Regions from separate parts of the Homo sapiens genome. Here all the other regions are linked to region 2. Evidence: promoter capture Hi-C in 16 types of primary human blood cells and fetal thymus (Javierre and others, 2016). All regions are on one chromosome and are shown on one strand. The core of a region is centred on a gene start or on the middle of the fragment in contact, and the rest is flanking DNA. Distances in the headings are between cores, read along the strand shown.

What was found. Contacts are between HindIII fragments. The CHiCAGO score rates a contact against its expected background, and 5 or more counts as called.
Region 1: a fragment that was not itself captured here is called in contact with the fragment with the promoter of FLJ46875 in region 2 in 1 of 17 cell types (total CD4 T cells); the score reaches 7.8 in total CD4 T cells.
Region 3: a contact is called between a fragment that was not itself captured here and the fragment with the promoter of FLJ46875 in region 2, in 1 of 17 cell types (non-activated CD4 T cells). The highest score is 6.8, in non-activated CD4 T cells.
Region 4: a fragment that was not itself captured here is called in contact with the fragment with the promoter of FLJ46875 in region 2 in 2 of 17 cell types (non-activated CD4 T cells and total CD4 T cells); the score reaches 13.4 in non-activated CD4 T cells.
Region 5: the fragment with the promoter of NMI here is called in contact with the fragment with the promoter of FLJ46875 in region 2 in 4 of 17 cell types (non-activated CD4 T cells, total CD8 T cells, total CD4 T cells and 1 more); the score reaches 13.7 in non-activated CD4 T cells.
Region 6: a contact is called between the fragment with the promoter of MMADHC-DT here and the fragment with the promoter of FLJ46875 in region 2, in 1 of 17 cell types (naive CD4 T cells). The highest score is 5.8, in naive CD4 T cells.

What each region holds. Positions count from the first base shown.
Region 1 is chr2:162,342,967-162,345,666 of GRCh38, forward strand. GCA (grancalcin) reads left to right here and starts at 1,166. Exons shown (of 8, transcript NM_012198.5): 1 at 1,166-1,309. The coding sequence starts at 1,283. RefSeq lists enhancers at 723-952, 805-974 and silencers at 1,003-1,152, 1,393-1,472. The HindIII fragment of the contact is 3,657 bases long and covers 1-2,700 here.
Region 2 is chr2:156,340,485-156,343,373 of GRCh38, forward strand. FLJ46875 (a long non-coding RNA gene) reads right to left here and starts at 1,636. Exons shown (of 1, transcript NR_147695.1): 1 at 1-1,636. RefSeq lists enhancers at 541-1,096, 1,097-1,650, 2,858-2,889 and silencers at 1,198-1,297, 1,838-2,447. The HindIII fragment of the contact is 3,407 bases long and covers 941-2,889 here.
Region 3 is chr2:148,638,464-148,641,363 of GRCh38, forward strand. No RefSeq gene overlaps it. Among named protein-coding and RNA genes, the nearest start is that of EPC2, 4.8 kb to the right of the region's middle. The HindIII fragment of the contact is 2,630 bases long and covers 151-2,780 here.
Region 4 is chr2:162,312,933-162,315,632 of GRCh38, forward strand. All of the region lies in intron 1 of IFIH1 (interferon induced with helicase C domain 1), which reads right to left. Among named protein-coding and RNA genes, the nearest start is that of IFIH1, 4.4 kb to the right of the region's middle. The HindIII fragment of the contact is 2,524 bases long and covers 86-2,609 here.
Region 5 is chr2:151,288,232-151,290,931 of GRCh38, forward strand. NMI (N-myc and STAT interactor) reads right to left here and starts at 1,437. Exons shown (of 8, transcript NM_004688.3): 1 at 1,362-1,437. RefSeq lists enhancers at 1-155, 956-1,005, 1,026-1,075, 1,466-1,545, 1,606-2,025 and a silencer at 1,206-1,405. The HindIII fragment of the contact is 4,870 bases long and covers 1-2,700 here.
Region 6 is chr2:149,586,014-149,588,713 of GRCh38, forward strand. MMADHC-DT (MMADHC divergent transcript) reads left to right here and starts at 1,345. Exons shown (of 3, transcript NR_110240.1): 1 at 1,345-1,837. MMADHC (metabolism of cobalamin associated D) reads right to left here and starts at 1,762. Exons shown (of 8, transcript NM_015702.3): 1 at 1,651-1,762; 2 at 1,076-1,136. The coding sequence starts at 1,084. RefSeq lists enhancers at 973-2,172, 1,489-1,808. The HindIII fragment of the contact is 5,571 bases long and covers 1-1,480 here.

The sequences.
Region 1 (2,700 bases), core at 152-2,651, 6.0 Mb after region 2:
AAGGAACTTACAGACACTTTCCCAAGAGTAGCTAGGACATCGGCAATCTTCCTTTCTCTCTGCTGTTTCCTCTGAGAATTGTTTCACAAGGTCCAACATCCTCTTCTGTAGCATAGCTGAACAACAGATACTCAGCTCTGCAAGGCTGATTTCCTTTGTGAATAGTTAACATTTTTTTGATAGCCTTATTTTTAAGAAACATGTTAGCCCTTCTCTTGTTCTTCAGAGATAACTCAAAATAATATCATTTGGTTTTTTCATTTGTTCATAAGCCAAAGCTACAGCTGCCTTGTCCTTTTAAAGTCAGAGCTACAAAATTCATTTGAGTTCCAGAGATAAATCAGACTTGTCCATTGCTATTACTTAATAAGCCAAAGTAATTGAACATTTAACAAGAGTTTGCCCAAAGGCTGAGTCAGATTATATACAGGACACCGTCTATATTATCAGTGTATAAACAGCAAATAAGTTTTTAGTGTATGTTCACGTCCTGTGCAATATTTGGGACATACTTACACTAAAAAAGTTTATTTGGAAATCAACTTTAACTAGATATCCTGTTTATTTGCCAACATGCCACAATTCAGGTCACCATTTATCTACCAAACAGAATCAATAACCTGTTCGTCCAATGTGGCCTCAAGTGGGTTTTGGCGCAGAAGCACTCCTCCTGGACCACAGGTGTGGTCCTGGTTGCAAAGTTTTGATGTGACATCAACACTACACAAAAGTAAATGTAACTGCAAAATTTTGAAATTCACAGATGGGTCTTTGAAGTCCAGCTCAAAAGCGTGGAGGGCTGGTTAAAATAAGTCACAGACTTGCCGGTTTGGGGTTTCTAGAAAGAAAAGTAACTTGAGGAGTTGAAGGCTTGTAGAAGACCTTTCCACAGAGAGTGGGAATTCCGTTGCAGCAGCCAAGGCTTCTTCGGGATTTAGAAGGAGAGCGCGCGAGAACCTGAGGGAGCCAGTAAGAGTCGAGCAGGGACTGGAGGGCTCCCGATGGGGTGTAGCCAATCAGGGCAGAGATGGGTGGGGCTAGGCTGCGGGAAGGGGCGGACTGCAGCTGAGTTGGCTCCAAAGTGTGGGACTCAGCCAATCGGAACCGTGCAGGGCGGGGCTGGCCTGCGGAAGGGGGCGGGTTCGGAGGAGTGAACTGTGCGGTTAGTGCGCCTTTCAGCCTCACCTGCAGCTGCGCCTCCTTGCACCTGCGCCTGTGCTTTTTCTCCCAGCACTGCGGACGCGACTCGAGGGTGACGCTCGCTCCGCTCGTCCCGCTCGTCATGGCCTACCCGGGATACGGAGGAGGGGTGAGTCCCAGCCGCTTGGTCGTGTCCCTCTTCCTCGCGGGGTGTGGCGCCCCCGGGGGCGGTGCCAACGTGCGGGTCCGCCCTTGGCTCCTGCTCCCTGCGTCCGCGCCTGGTACTCGGCGGCGCCGGATTCCGGGGCTGTTGGGGGCCAGGGCCTGGGCGAGCATTGATCCTGGGCTGACTTGGAGCCGCAGGTTTTCTGGTCGTTGAGGACCCTCGAGGAGCGTCCTGGTGGAGCCGAGGGAGTAATGTGTGTTTGGAAATTTATTTCCTGGAATGGAGGAACAAGCCACCCTCTTCTTGTTCCAGTAATCGTTTGTGGTACTTCCCTCCCCCGCCCCCCACTCAGTGTTGCTAGAGATCCTCTTTTTGAATTTCCTGACCACTTCTTGTTCTTTAAGTTCCTTATGAATAAATTAAGGTGTACGGTAAATAACTCCTAATCTTTACTGTTATACGAAGGGCAATCTGTTCTAGACTCCCCCGCTCGCCCCCAGGCGGGGGGAAGTTACTCTTTGTTATAACTTTTATCCTGCATCACCTTTGGGAGTTGCAAGTTATAATCGTAGAGTCCTGGTGGCTAGCCCCTTCTTTTCAGAAAGGAGCCCAAACCTTTAGTATCGATGTCAGTGATCTACACGCTGTGTTAACAGAGTTAACAGTAGTTTGATCCATTGCGGTGTGGGTAGAATATAATATATTTTCTATTTGTTTTTTACCTAAAAAGAGAAATTGTGTTTTACTGATTTTAATATAGGACTTGACTTTGGGCTATGGTTGTGGTCTTCAAAAGAGTTACTCCTACCCCTTGGAGTTCATGGTGGTGGTGGTGGTGGTGGTGGTGGTGGTGGTGGTGGTGGTTGTGGTTGTGGTTGTTGTTGTTGTTTTAGGATATGAATTTCCAGGTCCTCAACTTCCACACATACTTGTTCCTAAAATTGATTTGCTTTCCTTAAGACTTGCCTCAATCCCCTCTGGCACCGTCCACTTTGTAATGCCTATGCCTCCTCAGTCCTTAAATTTAGGAAGGAAGTTTAAGGTACCTAAGGAAAGTAAAGCCCCTTCGAAGATTAATCAAGATAGCATAAACCTGTGGGTCTTTAAAAACGTCCCTAGCGTATACGTATTTTCATTTGGTTGAAGCTATCTGTTAGAAGTTTGTATATTTACTCCTCTTGGTATGCTCTGAATTCATATATGTATGGTAGAGTGAGGTGGCAAGAGTAATACATTTTCATTCAAATAATTTGGTGCTTCCTTACCCACTTTTGTCAGAGTGCTTGAATTTGATGGAGAGTTCCACGACACAATAAAGAGAACGTCTGTATGTGTTTTGAATATTTAAATCCCCTTTTCCATGAATTTAAAATAAACAACTCTTTTCAGCTGTT
Region 2 (2,889 bases), core at 386-2,885:
GCAACTTAAGTATGCTGTCACTGACATGTTGGGAGGAAAAAGCAAACTACCAGTACCACCATGTACATGATTCAAATTAAGCTACATAAATAGTGAGTGCATGGGGTTGTGGGTACAGAAACTGGTTCGCTGAGGAGGTGCTACTTACATTTCCTGTATTTCATATTTCTGAGAACTGTCTTCTGTAATTTCCAAAGTGTAGGAATGGTTGAAGTTTGAAAATAAATGGAGAATTTCAAATAGTTAATGAATAGATTTAGGAGCTATACTGAAACAACTAGCAGAAAATACATTTTCTGGAGTTCTTTAATTTTGTACGCTTAAAAGTATGGTGTTCCTAAAGATGGCTAATTCTTGTTGAAGTAAGTAGCTCTGGAAGTCATATTTTCCATTTCTCCATACTTCATCTATTAATCAGTTGACTGGCAATTTCCGACACCAGTTTTGCTAAACTTTATAAATTTTGCTTCCTCCAGAGGTAGGAGGGGGAAGGAGATGGGCAATACAGAAACAGATTTTACAGCCAGAATATGACAGGGCCCCTTAAACTACAAATAGATGTAGAATTTTAAATGTAGCTCTGTAGTTCAATTTATACCACAGAAATTGCGAGATGCTATCTTCCTGTTGTTATAACGTATCAGGTCAAGGGATATAAATTGTACCAGGTAATTCATTTTGCTGTTCAGAGAGTCATTAAGTTCCTCCCAGAATATATGTGATTGATATCCCTGGAGGTGAAAGGCTAAAGGAACCATATGGCAACATGTTGCATTCCGTATGCTATCTGCCCATCCGTGCTTAAGCTGTCATTAGCAACATCTGTACCTTACGGAAATCCAGCTGCGCCGACGACGGCTGACGGAATTGTACTTGGGGGGAAAATCTAGCTTAGCGCCATTAACTTGAGACTTAGAGTCTATCTACCAGGACGGATGGAAGCTTTCACAATTAGACGAGACGACACGAATGCTTTATTAAAGTTTAATTTTGAACTCCCAATTAGCGAAAGTGCATTACAAATCGATTGCAATTTCCTAGAAGGTGCAGCAAGTTCTCTGCCTGCCTGCCACGTGCGAGACGCTCCACAGCGAGCTTCCCCAGCTCCGGGCAGCAGAAAGGGGATGGTTCAGAGCCGATCTCCGCATCCCAGGAAGTCCCTAAAATCCGCGCCAGCCCCTCCTCCCGCAGGGCGGGGGCGTCCACGGCGCGAACCCGCCAGAGGTGTAGGGGGAAGTGTGGGGGGCTGGTCCGCAGCCTTCGAGGGGTGGGGCGACAGGAGCGAGCGGCCGGGGGAGGAGAAAAAGGCGGGCGGCGGGAGAGGGGGCCTCTATTATCTCGGCTTCTCGGGAGGAGCCTCATCTAGTCAGTCACGCAGAAGTTTCTCTTTCGCTCTTCGCGCTACACACCCAGATTGGCTTCCAGCGCGCAGGCGAGTGGGGCGAAGGAGGGGGGACAGGAGTCCCGGAAGGGCCGTCCGGCGTTCACACCCACCCCTGTTCCGCTCCTCCCGCCCCAAACAAAGTCCCCCGACTCTAGGTCCAGGATACGTTACCTGCCCGGCGCTCCCGGCCCCTCGGTCACCGCATCCCCCGCTGGGCGCGCCTGGTACGGGTCCCGCTCCCCGGGGCTCACAAAGTGGTCGCCCCTGGCTGGGCGGCTGGGTAGATGCCCCTCTCTGGACATGTTGGGGCGGTTTTTGGGGTGGAGGGAACGCGGGAAGTGAAAGCGGAGGCTGGGACAAGGGGAACTTACTGATAAAATGGAAAAAAAAAAAGCCCACAGGGCCCAGGTCCTGGCCGGGGGCGAAAGAGGCCTGTTACCTTTCGGGGGGTCGCGGCCGACCAAGAAGGGAGCCGGGGAGTCGCCCGCCCCCCTCCCCCGGCCCCCGGCCCCCGGCCCCCGGCGGCTGCGGCAGCTGCACACAGAAGCCCATTGTCGCCGGCGTCCGGCGCGCAGCCCCGCGGACTCGGCCCCGCGGCCAAGCGCGTCAGCGGCCCCGTCAGCCGGGCCGGGCTCCGTGACGCGCGCGCAGCCCGCGCTATAAATAACCTGCCGCCGGGCGGCTCGGGCGGCTTTCCAGTGACGCTGGGGCGGAGGCGCGGTAGGAGGAGGGCGAAAGGAAACAATAAAACCGCCCGGCAGCCTCCCAAGTCTCCCTCCTCCCTTCCCAGGCCGCCCGCGGCCCTTCGCGTCGAGCTCCTTTTTCCCCGCCCCGGCCCGCCCTGCGGGGAGCGCGGTTCGCGGGTGGGAAGGAGCCCGGCGTGCTGGCGTCCCCGAGTGCTGCCGGGGCCCCGGGGCGGGAGGGGGTTTTTCCCGCACCCTGGGATGGCGAGGAGGGAACTTGGCGACAAGTTTAGTGAGGGGATCGCTGTGTTCCTTTCTAGTCCAGTTAAAATGACCCGAGCTTTTCCCGCTCCCTCACACACCTATTCTAGTACAGGTCGGATGTGTTTTTGGGGTAGTAAGTCCTCAACCGAAAACAAAAGCGAAAAACCTGTCGTCTTCAACGTAAGCATTATCTAGGTTTTTGTGGGGCCAGGCTTGCATTAGTGTTTTCATTCGGGGGGTTGTATTATAGAAAGGGTGCCCCGTAGTAGCAGCGTGAGGAAGGGTTCCAGGACCCAGGCTGTCAGCTCCGGTGCATTTACAGGTCTTTTTGCCGTAGAATTTAGCATAGGCCTGAAACATGGCATAAATGAACTTTCTAAAAGTCTATAATCTCAACGTTAAAGAGCTTACTTTTTAACTCTGGACTTTAATAAAGGCTCCCACTTTAAAAGGGGCTTTCTCTATAGGAAAGTATTAATATTTTTGTGGAGACTCTCACTGCTACCTTCCATACTCAGGCAATTCTGTCACACACCCTGACACTTGTCCTACTCATTA
Region 3 (2,900 bases), core at 216-2,715, 7.7 Mb before region 2:
CCCACCCCCTGATGCCATCTAACCTGAGATAGGAATGCACACCTTATTTATGCAAAGGTCAGACTACCTCTTGGCTTTGCCAGTGGATACACCCTTAGCTCATTGCAAGAGCGGGAGGAGAGCTTTCTATTCAGGCACTGGTTCTTGTTAAGCTTCTTTCTTTCCAGAAAATATCCTCCACAACATGGTCATTTAAGGCGTGTGGGCCTGCCCTTAATTGGGCATTTAGAAGAGCTGCACTTCAGGCAATTGTAATAGTGCACAATTTTGAGCTCTCAGCAGGACAGTTTATCAGGAGACAGTTGAGAGAAAAAGAATCTTCAGGCAGGATTGCCTGGGGGCCGTAGGGTCCATTCATACTCCCAGATCTGTATGGGGTGGGGCTCATGGCTTCAGACATCCAGCTCCATTCTAACCTCTGCAGAATTGGTTGTGCTGGATTGCGTATAATGCCGTCAGTGTATATGGAGGGTCACTATAAGAAACAGCCCTTAGATGCCCCTTTTGTATCTATTGTAAGATTACTGTTGAAATATCTGTTATATCACCTAGTTGCTCTATTTATAAAGACTCTTGGACATTGCAATGAGTACCAGGAACAACTGTAACTCTCCTGAGCAGTCATTTTATCTAATGGATATTGTGAGCTGTGAAGCTGACAAAGTTTCCTAATTTCGTGTTACTAGGAAATTTAGAACCCAAATGCTATCCTAGCATATTTTAGCAACTCTTAAAAGCCACTTGAAATCCTTTCTGAAACAAGGTGAGAGGTATGGGTGAGTCAGTAAATTTCTAAGTAATTAGTGTGTTTTATTTCAGTGGTCTCTGTTTCTTTCCCTGCCAAAGTCACCTTTAATAGCTGAGGAAAGACAAGTAAATCTGTCTTCTAATTTGGAGAAAACAAAGTGGCTTTCCTTTCTACCTCCTAACAAGTCACTGTGGAATTTAAGGGGCTCTCAGTATGCTACTATCAGAACCTTTTTCTTAGGAAACAGGTTATTTTGTTCTAGGGGACAACAAAAGATCAGATCAGTAAGGCATGGCTGTTAATAAATCAATTCACCGATTTTCTTCAATTCAGGATTCCAGCTGCATACGCCATTCACAAATCTGTGGTTATAAACATTTAATCTTTTGTTGGTGGTAGAGATTTAAAAAAATAGGTGAGAGGAACCATGTTTAGACGAGCAACCCAAGTTTCCTAACAATGGACTCCTCTTAGCTAACACTTGGACCCCAGTGAGCTTGGTGCTCTGAGCCTGCTTGTTGTCTGAGATGGGCCAGCAAAGTCAGTGAGACTGAACTGCCTTCACAGGGATTGAAACAACCTTCCAAGTTACCTTTCAGAGGTGCCTCAGGAGAACAGGATGCACCAATGGAGACAGAAACTGTGAAGAATATACATTTCAGGAGCCCTAAACCAACAGTGGGTGTGCATCTGTAGCCCCCAAAGCCCCAGGATCTCCACTCCAACACCCTTATGAAAATAATATGAATCATCCAGCTAGTTCCATGAATGTAATAGTGTCTTCAGCTGAATGACAGCTGTGCTGAATTTAGAGTGGGTTTCCTCCAAGTGTGGAATTTCTCAAGGGCAAGGTAGCTGGATTGGAAAGGATCCTATTTTTTAACCTCCCGTGGCCTTGCTCCAACAATTGTATTTCTGTTCCAAACTCGGTCATTTTTAAAACCTCACTATCATCCAATTTTATTAAAATAAGTACTTATTTTTAAAAATAATTATTTTACTTATTTTATTAAAACAAGTAGGCTCATATTCATCAGCTCAATGGAACCTAGTGCCTCTCAAAAATCCAAAGTCCAGGCCAGGTACGGTGGCTCACTCCTGTAATCCCAGCACTTTGGGAGGCTGAGGCAGGCAGATCATGAGGTCAGGAGTTCAAGACCAGCCTGACCAACATGGCAAAACCCTGTCTCTACTAAAAATACAAAAATTAGCCAGGCGTGGTGGCATGTGCCTGTAATCTCAGCTACTCAGGAGGCTGAGGCAGGAGAATTGCTTGAACCCAGGAAGCAGAGGTTGCAGTGAGCCAAGATTGCACCACTGCACTCCAGCCTGGGTGACAGAGACTCCATCTCAAAAAAAAAAAAAAAAAAAAGAAAGAAAAAAAAAATCCTGAAATTACATCTACATAGCTTGCTTGCTGTTTGGACACACATAACTGTCCAAGTCAGATTTGTTAGCTTCATCACAAGAGCTTTACTTATTTCTCTTATCCCCATCCAAAAGCCTGAGTGAGCAGCGTCAATCTATTCCAAATGTGGAGCACTGGTTGTGTTTTACGGTCCGGGTGGGGCAACAAATGAGACAGGCTGTCAGTGCAATTCAAAATTGGGTGTTGTGGACCCTCTGGAGCTGTGTGTTTTCAAATCTGTTTCTTTTTTTTTTAGTTACCAAAATGCAGAGCTTTCAGGCTGATTATTTTGGAGTCTATTTGGATCCTTTGTGGAGCTGGGAAGTAAATCGTCAGCTTATACACAAGGTGGCACCCTGTGATTCCAACCAGGTCTGAGAGGAGCGATGCTGCTAAGAAACTGAGCCACAGTCACAAATTTTTATTTACCATCTGCTATTCCCACGGTGGCAAATGCAGAGGTAGAAGTAGATGTTTGGCAGGTCACCTCTCAGTGTAGTCTCTGTCCCTATGTCTCAAAGATGCAGAGCTGCCTCAGAAAAGGGCACTGGAACCACAGAACTGATTCCAGTTGATTGTAATGAATGCAGACCCCACATTCAGATTACATATGGAAAACAACGAAGCTTTATTAGTACTAGGCTCATTCCTGGGAACATAAGGGGGAGGGGTGGAGATGCAGTTCACATACTAACCCAATTAACTTTCAAATGGTTTTGCTGAAACCAGGAGCCAATTAGAAAG
Region 4 (2,700 bases), core at 98-2,597, 6.0 Mb after region 2:
AAATCCCTAAGCATATTCTATCCACAAAATTTTCTTCAACCACTATTCTATTAAGTCAACTTTTACTGTGGAATCATATTTTTCAAGCTTTCTTTGCCGTTATTGAGTCCAAGCATATAAGGATCATGATGTCATTATTTCCTAAACATATTCTTACAATTTGAATGTGGAACTACATATATCTGTGCAATTTTAGCAGCCTCATCAAGATGCTGAATTTTTAAGAAATCTTCTCAGTTTTGGTGCTGGAAAGTACATCAGCTCCCTTTGAAGCAATTATATAATTTTAAAAATTTAATATGTTCTCCTAAAACATTGTAAAGATATTGATCCCAATATGTAAACACAATTACAGAAATTCGTGGGAGGTGAATATTTACATTTGAGACTGCAACAAGTCATAAAACAATTCTCACCCATGCCCCTCCCCCACTCGAAGTTTTCTCTGTGAAGTTAAAAATGGATGGATGTTTTCACTATGTAGTCTATTAATACATTGTTAACTAATTTATGAAATACGAAATAAAATTAATTTGGTAATAATACAACTCAATGCTTTCATATTCTAAATTCTTTGATATGTTTTTTCTTTCCAACAGAAATCAGTGAAGAAACCAATGACATTTCCATAAAGCACTGGCTTACCAACACAATTGTACAGTTTAATGAAAATGTTTTCTTCCCTTTATAATAACCTTAGATAGCTATTTAAATATAATGGTGATTTTTTTAACCCAGCAGAGTTCAACTCTCAGATAAAAGTAAATCAGGAGGCAAAACCTGTATGTTAAAAAAGAATTTTAAAGAACCAGTTTCCCACAAAAAGTTAATGTCTTAACCCAATGAATATTTATTGTCACATTGACATAGCTAATTTCTTATTCATACTTTTTTTTTTGCAGATGAAATTCTTATCTTTCCTAATTTGCCAGACAATACAATGTTCCTGGGGAGATTGACTTGGGTGCTCAACTTCATGTTGGGAGAACTGGACTGTTCTTAGGTGGACTAGTCATGGCATCTCTGGTTCTTCTGTGTAAATGGAAGGTGTGTGGAGTCTCCAGGACTACAGATGCATTGTGTTCTGAACTGGCCAGGGATGAAACATGCATCTCTCTTTAGCTGTTCAGCTTGATTATTAAGACACTATGGAAATGTTTATATGATCACTTTCGTTCCCAGAGTTCATGACTGCCTAAATTGATGGGTGTGCCAAGTTGTAACTTAGTTATAACTAAGATGTAACAATGCCAAATTGTAACTTAGCATCCTAAAAGAGGAGCAAGGCAGTACAGGGGTACCCCCTTACCATTAAGGATTGCTTTATTATAATGATTGATAAAATGGCATATATTTATTGCTGAAACTCTAGTATTTAGAATAGTCCCTTGTATACAGTAGACATTCTTCTTTCCTTCCTTCCTTTCTTCCTTCCTTCCCTCCCTCCCTCCCTCCCTCCCTCCCTCCTTTCTTTCTTTCTTTCTTTTCTTTCTTTCTTTCTTTCTTTCTTTCTTTCTTTCTTTCTTTCTTTCTTTCTTTCTTTCTTTCTTTCTTTTTCTTTCTCTCTTTCTTATTAGATGGAGTCTCGCTCTGTCACCAGGGTGGAGTGCAGTGGCGCCATCTCAGCTCACTGCAAGCTCCGCCTCCCAGGTTCATGCCATTCTCCTGCCTCAGCCTCCCGAGTAACTGGGACTACAGGCTCCCACCACCACACCCAGCTAATTTTTTTGTATTTTTAGTAGAGACGGAGTTTTACCGTGTTAGCCAGGATGGTCTCCATCTCCTGACCTCGAGAGCCACCCTCCTCGGCCTCCCAAAGTGCTGGGATTACAGGCGTAAGCCACCATGACTGGCCTACAGTAGACATTCTTTTATCAACACTAATTAACACTACAACACAACTTCACGAAAGGACAAAACAGTCTCTGTGTTTTTCTCCTATCTTTTCACCACTAGCATGGCATCCGGCACAAAGATGCCACTCAATAAATTCAAACTGAATGAATGAGTGAATGAATGAATAAGTTTTTGGGTACTTGCTGGACACAAACCTATGTATAAAGTCATTTTCAGAAGGCCTGCTGTAATTACGGGCAGGGGCTAGGAAATGGGGTGGGAATCCTAAATTAAAATAATAGATCAAGTAGAAAATGTCTATGGGGAAACAGAAAAAGAATGAAAATACAAGACCATTTTATAGAAGTCTTGATTACTTAGTTAAATGCTATTTTAAGCCTTCAAAAAAGCAAATTTGGAAATCTTATTTTCATCATTCATCCATTCTCTAACGCCTGGCAACACAATTCAATACGTCATGTGTTTTCAACGCTTATTCCAGACACTTTCAGAAATAAATTCAATTAGTCTATCAATCAAGTAATCAATGCTTACTAAACACCAACCCTCTACCTAATCCTAGTTAGGTTCTGGGATGAAAGAGGTAATTTCTTTTTCAAATCAGTATAATCTAGGGACTTTAAGAAGTATATCTCAATTGCGACATGGGGAATTTACCTCAATCTCTCAAACTTAAATTTACACAGAAATGTAACCAGATGAATGGTTACAAAAGTCAACACCATTATCATATCAAATAGCTCTGATTTATAAGCTTTTTCATAAACACTATTTCTGATTTGATGTTGACTAAAATACTGTGAGAAATTTTATGATGTCCATTTTCACAGGTAAATGTAGCAT
Region 5 (2,700 bases), core at 187-2,686, 5.1 Mb before region 2:
TCAGCTTGCTTTTAAATATGGAGAGCATCCTGGATTATCTGTGGGAGCCCAGTGTAATCATGAGGCTACTTAAAAGTGAAAGCGGAAGACAGAAGAAGAGTCAAGAGTGAAATGTGACCCCGGAAGAACTTTCAGAGGCGCAATGTTGCTGGCCCTGAAGATGGAGGAAGGGCTGCTGAGCCAAATAAGGTAGGTGGCCTCCGGAAGATGGAAAGAGGATTCACCCCAAGAGCTTCCAGAAAGGAAGGCAACCCTGCCAACACTTTGATTTTAACCCAGTGAGACCTCAGTAGGACTGCTACAGAATCCTAAGATAGTAAATTGTGTATGTGAGTGTGTGTGTGTGTGTGTGTGTGCGCGCGCGCGCGCGTTCCTATGTGTTTAAGCCACTAAAGCCATGTAATTTGTTATGGCAGCGAATTAAAAAAACTGATACAAATCAACATCACCGTATTTCCGTAATACAATCATATAACTGCGGTGCCAGGCCGTGTAGAATCGAATCTTCCTATATGCATGCGTGGCAGCAAAAAGAAAGGCAATAGAACGTCTGCCTGTTGTACAGACTGGAAACACAGTATTCTCCTTCGGATGTCTCCTTCAAGAAAAACCTTGCCTATTCTGACACGCCAGCCATGACTGCACAACACTGCCCCTACCAAGAATCGTTTTCTTAAGAAATCCGTTTTCCTAAGGACTATCTCCAGAGACACTCGGAGAAAACAGCGAGGGCCGGGCGCGGTGGCTCACGCCTGTAATCCCAGCACTTTGGGAGGCCGAGGCGTGCGGATCACGAGGTCAGGAGATCGTATCCATCCTGGTTAACACGGTGAAACCCCGTCTCTACTAAAAATACAAAAAAAAAAATTAGCCAGGCGTGGTGGCGGGCGCCTGTAGTCCCAGCTACTCTACTCGGGAGGCTGAGGCTGGAGAATGGCGTGAACCCGGGAGGCGGAGCTTGCAGTGAGCCGAGATCGCGCCACTGCACTCCAGCCTGAGCGACAGAGCGAGACTCCGTCTCAAAAAAAAAAAAAAAAAAAAAAAAGAGAGAAAACAGCGAGGAAACACAAATAACTTTATGTTTCAATTTCCTCAATGAAGCAAAGCAAACAAGTGACAAGGCTCGAAGCCCTGACGGCCCAGAGACTGCACAGCGGGCCCAGGAGCAGGTGCGCCCCCTCGAAGGCGGCGTGGCCTCCGCGACTCGGCTGCGGGCAGCTCCCGGGGAGCAGGGTCTCAACTCCGGCGCTGTCCCACTTCCGTCGGCGCTGAGGGCTCCCACCTCCCTTTCCACCCCCGGCTCTCCAGCCCGGGACTGCCAGCGGCGGGAGTGGCAGCCGGGGAAGGGACTCCCCACTCACCCGCGTCCGCCCGCCGAGCGCAGCTCCCCAAGGCCCAGCGCGCCTGCCCTTCCCGGAAAACAGCAGCGCCTGAAACGCCGGAACCCCGGGAGGCACTGGGAGGGGAAGGCCCGGGTTCTCGAAACTGTCGCTGCCTCCTGCAGAAGCGCCGCGGGAGAGCTGCGGGGTCTTCCTGAGGAGGTGGCCCTCGCAGGAACAGCTGGGTTCCCCGCGAAAAGAAAAAGACAGTGAAAAAGAAAACTGCTTTAACGGCGATTTTTCTTTAGCATTTAACCAATGCTCAAATACTAAACATGGTTGTCTCCAATGATTAGTCACTAACAGAAAAAAAAACTAATTTCACTTTCGATTTTTAAAAAGGGGTGGTTTTGCGGAGGAAAGCAGAAGTATACCTGAAGTTTCCGTACACACTAATTTTAGGGAACGCTTTCTAAAACCAGTTTTTTGCATGTATTTTATAAGGTATGTTGGAAAAGTGGATAGAAACCAAATAAAGTCAAAGCAGGAATCGCTCTTCATCAGATTGTAACTCTTTTGTAATTTCTTAGTCATTGTAACACTAGTTGACAAATGTTTACAGTCAGCACAAGATCGGCGTTTCTGTGTCTTTTGTAACATCCCCCGGGGCCATGAAGTTGGGAAAGCTGTGGTGTTCCTGTTGGTTTCTGTGACCCATGTCCCTTGAAAGTTTTCTTATAATCTCTTGTTTTGTTGTGGAGCTTGTAAATAAATACTTCACTAGGTGTGAACTTTTCCTTTGAAAATTCAAACATCTGGTTTATTTCAAGAACTGCAGTGTCTCTTAATCCCACACAAAGAACCACCCCACAGCTGCCCCGGCTCATAAATACAGATGTGGGAAGAAAATGAGTCAAAATTATTTCAAGGCATAAATTATAGGTTATCATGCTACCTAGTCACATATAATAACTGATACAGTGGTCTAAAATAGTTTAACAAAAGTAAAATTTCTTTGTATCAAAAAGGTTGATGGGAACCAGTTTAAAGTGGTGACATTTCTCTTTTTTTTTTTTTTTTTTGAGATGAGTCTTGCTCTGTTGCCCAGTCTCCAACTCCTGAGCTCAAGCAGTCCTTCCACCTCCACTCCCAAGTAGCTGGGATTACAGGAATTCACGACCGCACCCAGATTTTTTGTACTTTTAATTTGGGTGCTGGGGGCAGGTATCTAACTGTTTCCCAGGCTGATCTTGAGCTCTGGCCCAAGTGATCCCACCACCTCAGCCTCCTGTAAAATGGCATTTCTAAGTAAAAAAAACGACTTCTTTGTGCTTATCAGACCAGTTAGAAAATACAAAAACTCCTTCTGCTGCAACTTGAG
Region 6 (2,700 bases), core at 95-2,594, 6.8 Mb before region 2:
CTTTCTGTGCAGGTTATGGGCAGGCAAAAATTCACCATAGAACTTGGCCAAGACTAGTAATCTATTCTTATGACTTGTCTCTATAGTCACACTTTAGACTTAATATACCATGTTCAATTACAGAAATAGCATCCTGGCTAAATGCTGCCATATAAATCTTCCTAGCACACAGCTCTAAGTGAATAATCACAATTTAAAGAATGAAGTCTAAATTACTGAGTTCGGCATTCAAGGCTCTCATTTACTTGGTACCAACCTCACAATTCAACCTTATCTCCCACTTATCTCTTTCATGCAGCTTACATTCAGGTTGGCAGGCAGCAGTCACTTTTCAGTTTTTCAAAGGGGTAGGCGGGTTGGGGAGTTCTTTGAATATACCTTCCTGTCCTTCCCGCTCATATTTTAGACTATACAAATCCCACCTATCTTTCAAACCTCAAGTTAAATGTTTCCCTCATGAAGTGATCCCAAACTCCTCTCCACAAAGACTTGAATCTGCATTGCACCTTCGTGTAGGTTCTAAAAAAAATTATTACTTTATACTTTAATTGTAGCTGTTTTTATATATGTCTTATGACCGCTACATATGAATTCTATAGATAGGATGTGTCTAATCACTGCAAAGTTACAGTCAATAAATATCTCTGGTGTGTGAGAGTATCTCCTATTCTTATTTTGTAGGATTTAGAAGGTCACTTCCAATATGGAAACTGTTTTAAAAAAAAGAAAAAAAGATTAAAAAAACCCTTCAGTTTAGCTAACCCAAAAGCTAAAAAAGGGCCTAAACATAGATTCTAATATTTACTGAAACGCTGTATTTAAAAAATACCGAAAGGGTGCTTGAATTTCCACATCTGTACAAATGAAATTGTATAAATAAGTGTATTTGCAGTGCAAAGAATGCTACCATCTTCAAAGCATAACATAATTTCACACCACTTGCTTCCCTTGACATTTTTGATACATTATATCTAACACTATACCACCCAATGCCATCATAATTAAACCCGTTCTTTCATTCCTAACATTCCCAAACGAGTTTACTATGCTGATTCTTAAGAGATAATTTACTCACATTGGCCATCTCCGCTGGAGAAGATAGTTCGCAAAATAGCTTTCCTTTGGTAAAGTTATTTCTGGGAAAGAACACAACAAAACAGACGAGTGATCGATTAAACTCTAACAACAGACAACTGAGGTAACGTCCACTCTTCGAAGGTGTGTCGTCCACCACGTCAGGACCAAAGTCCAAGCTCTCCCCGTACCCTAAGGAGGCCAGAACTCGCCCCCATGCCAGGCACAGATCCCCCAGCCCGGAGCCGGCAGTGCAGCTCAGAGCCCTTCCGGTTTACAGCCGCGGAAAAACAACTCGGACCAGATCCGGGAGGGGAATGGGGGCTGGGTGGCCAAAATTCAGTCCAGAGGATCGAAGCGGCTGCTTTAACAGAAGTTGGGGCTGCGTAACAACAGCTCCAAGCAAAGCTTCAGGCTGATCGGAAAGATGAGGAAGCAGAAAAGAGACTAAAGACAGACGGACAGGATGGCTGGGGACAACGACAGGGACCCAGTGAAAATACGGGCAATACCGAGGGCTGTAACCCTAACACGGGCAAATTTGGAGGGGCTAACATGGGCGGAAACCATCCGTACCAGTCACCACCACTGTCTCCAGCTGTCCCAGAACCGGACTCTTCCTGCCATCAAAATGGCGGCGGCGACGGCAGCGGTGGTAGCACCTACGCTGGCGGTGAGCAGGCAAAGGAAGTTGCTTCCGAGCGCGTCGAAACGATGATGCGCACGCGCAAAGTAGGCCTACGTGGAGCCGACCTGCCATTGGGTAAACGCAAGGGAGGAGAAAAGGTGGGGCAGGGGTGATTTGGGTGGATGGATAGGAGGGCTTCCGACCTGCGTTAGGCGGGTCAGTTAATCTTCAGTAACTCCTTGATGCGTTTGATAGTCCTCCCAACTTAAGCCTTCCTTACTGCCTCCAGGAGATACAGTCTTCTGTTCTTTTTGTCATAGTTGTTTATTTTTCATGAATCGCTGTTTTTGAGCATAGGGCACTTACCTCTTTCTGTGTCCCCAGCCCTACCACAGTGCCAGGCTCTCAATATGCTCGATAAATATTAGGCGATTGATTTGTAAATCGTGTATCATTTTCATGTATCTAATACTTTTTTAAAAATTGATTAAAGCCCATAAGCCCATATTTTATTCCAGATGTCCTTAGTTTTCGACCTGGTATTCTTTTCCATTCCAGGATCCTGTCCGGAGTACATCACCATGTCTTCCAGGCTCCTCTGGACCGTGACCGTTTCTCAAACTTTCCTTGTTTTTGATAACCTTAATAGTTTTGAAGCGACTTATTGGTCATTTGGTCAAATGTCCTTCAATTGGGTTTTGCCTGTATTTTTCTCATGCATTAACTGAGGTTATGGGTTTTTCTTGAGTTAAGAGGTAAGGTAAAGTGATCTTCTCATCACATCACATCAAGGGTATATACTATCAACATGACTTATTACTGTTGATGCTAACCTTTATCACCATTATTACAGTGTCATACAGAAAAGTTTTATAGTTCTACAAAGATCCCCTTTGTTTCATCTAGTAAGCCCTTCCACCTCCCTATGTAGGGTTTGTCAGGTTTCTCCACTGTGAAGTTACTGTTTTTCTTTTCCTCTCCATACTATACTATTTGGA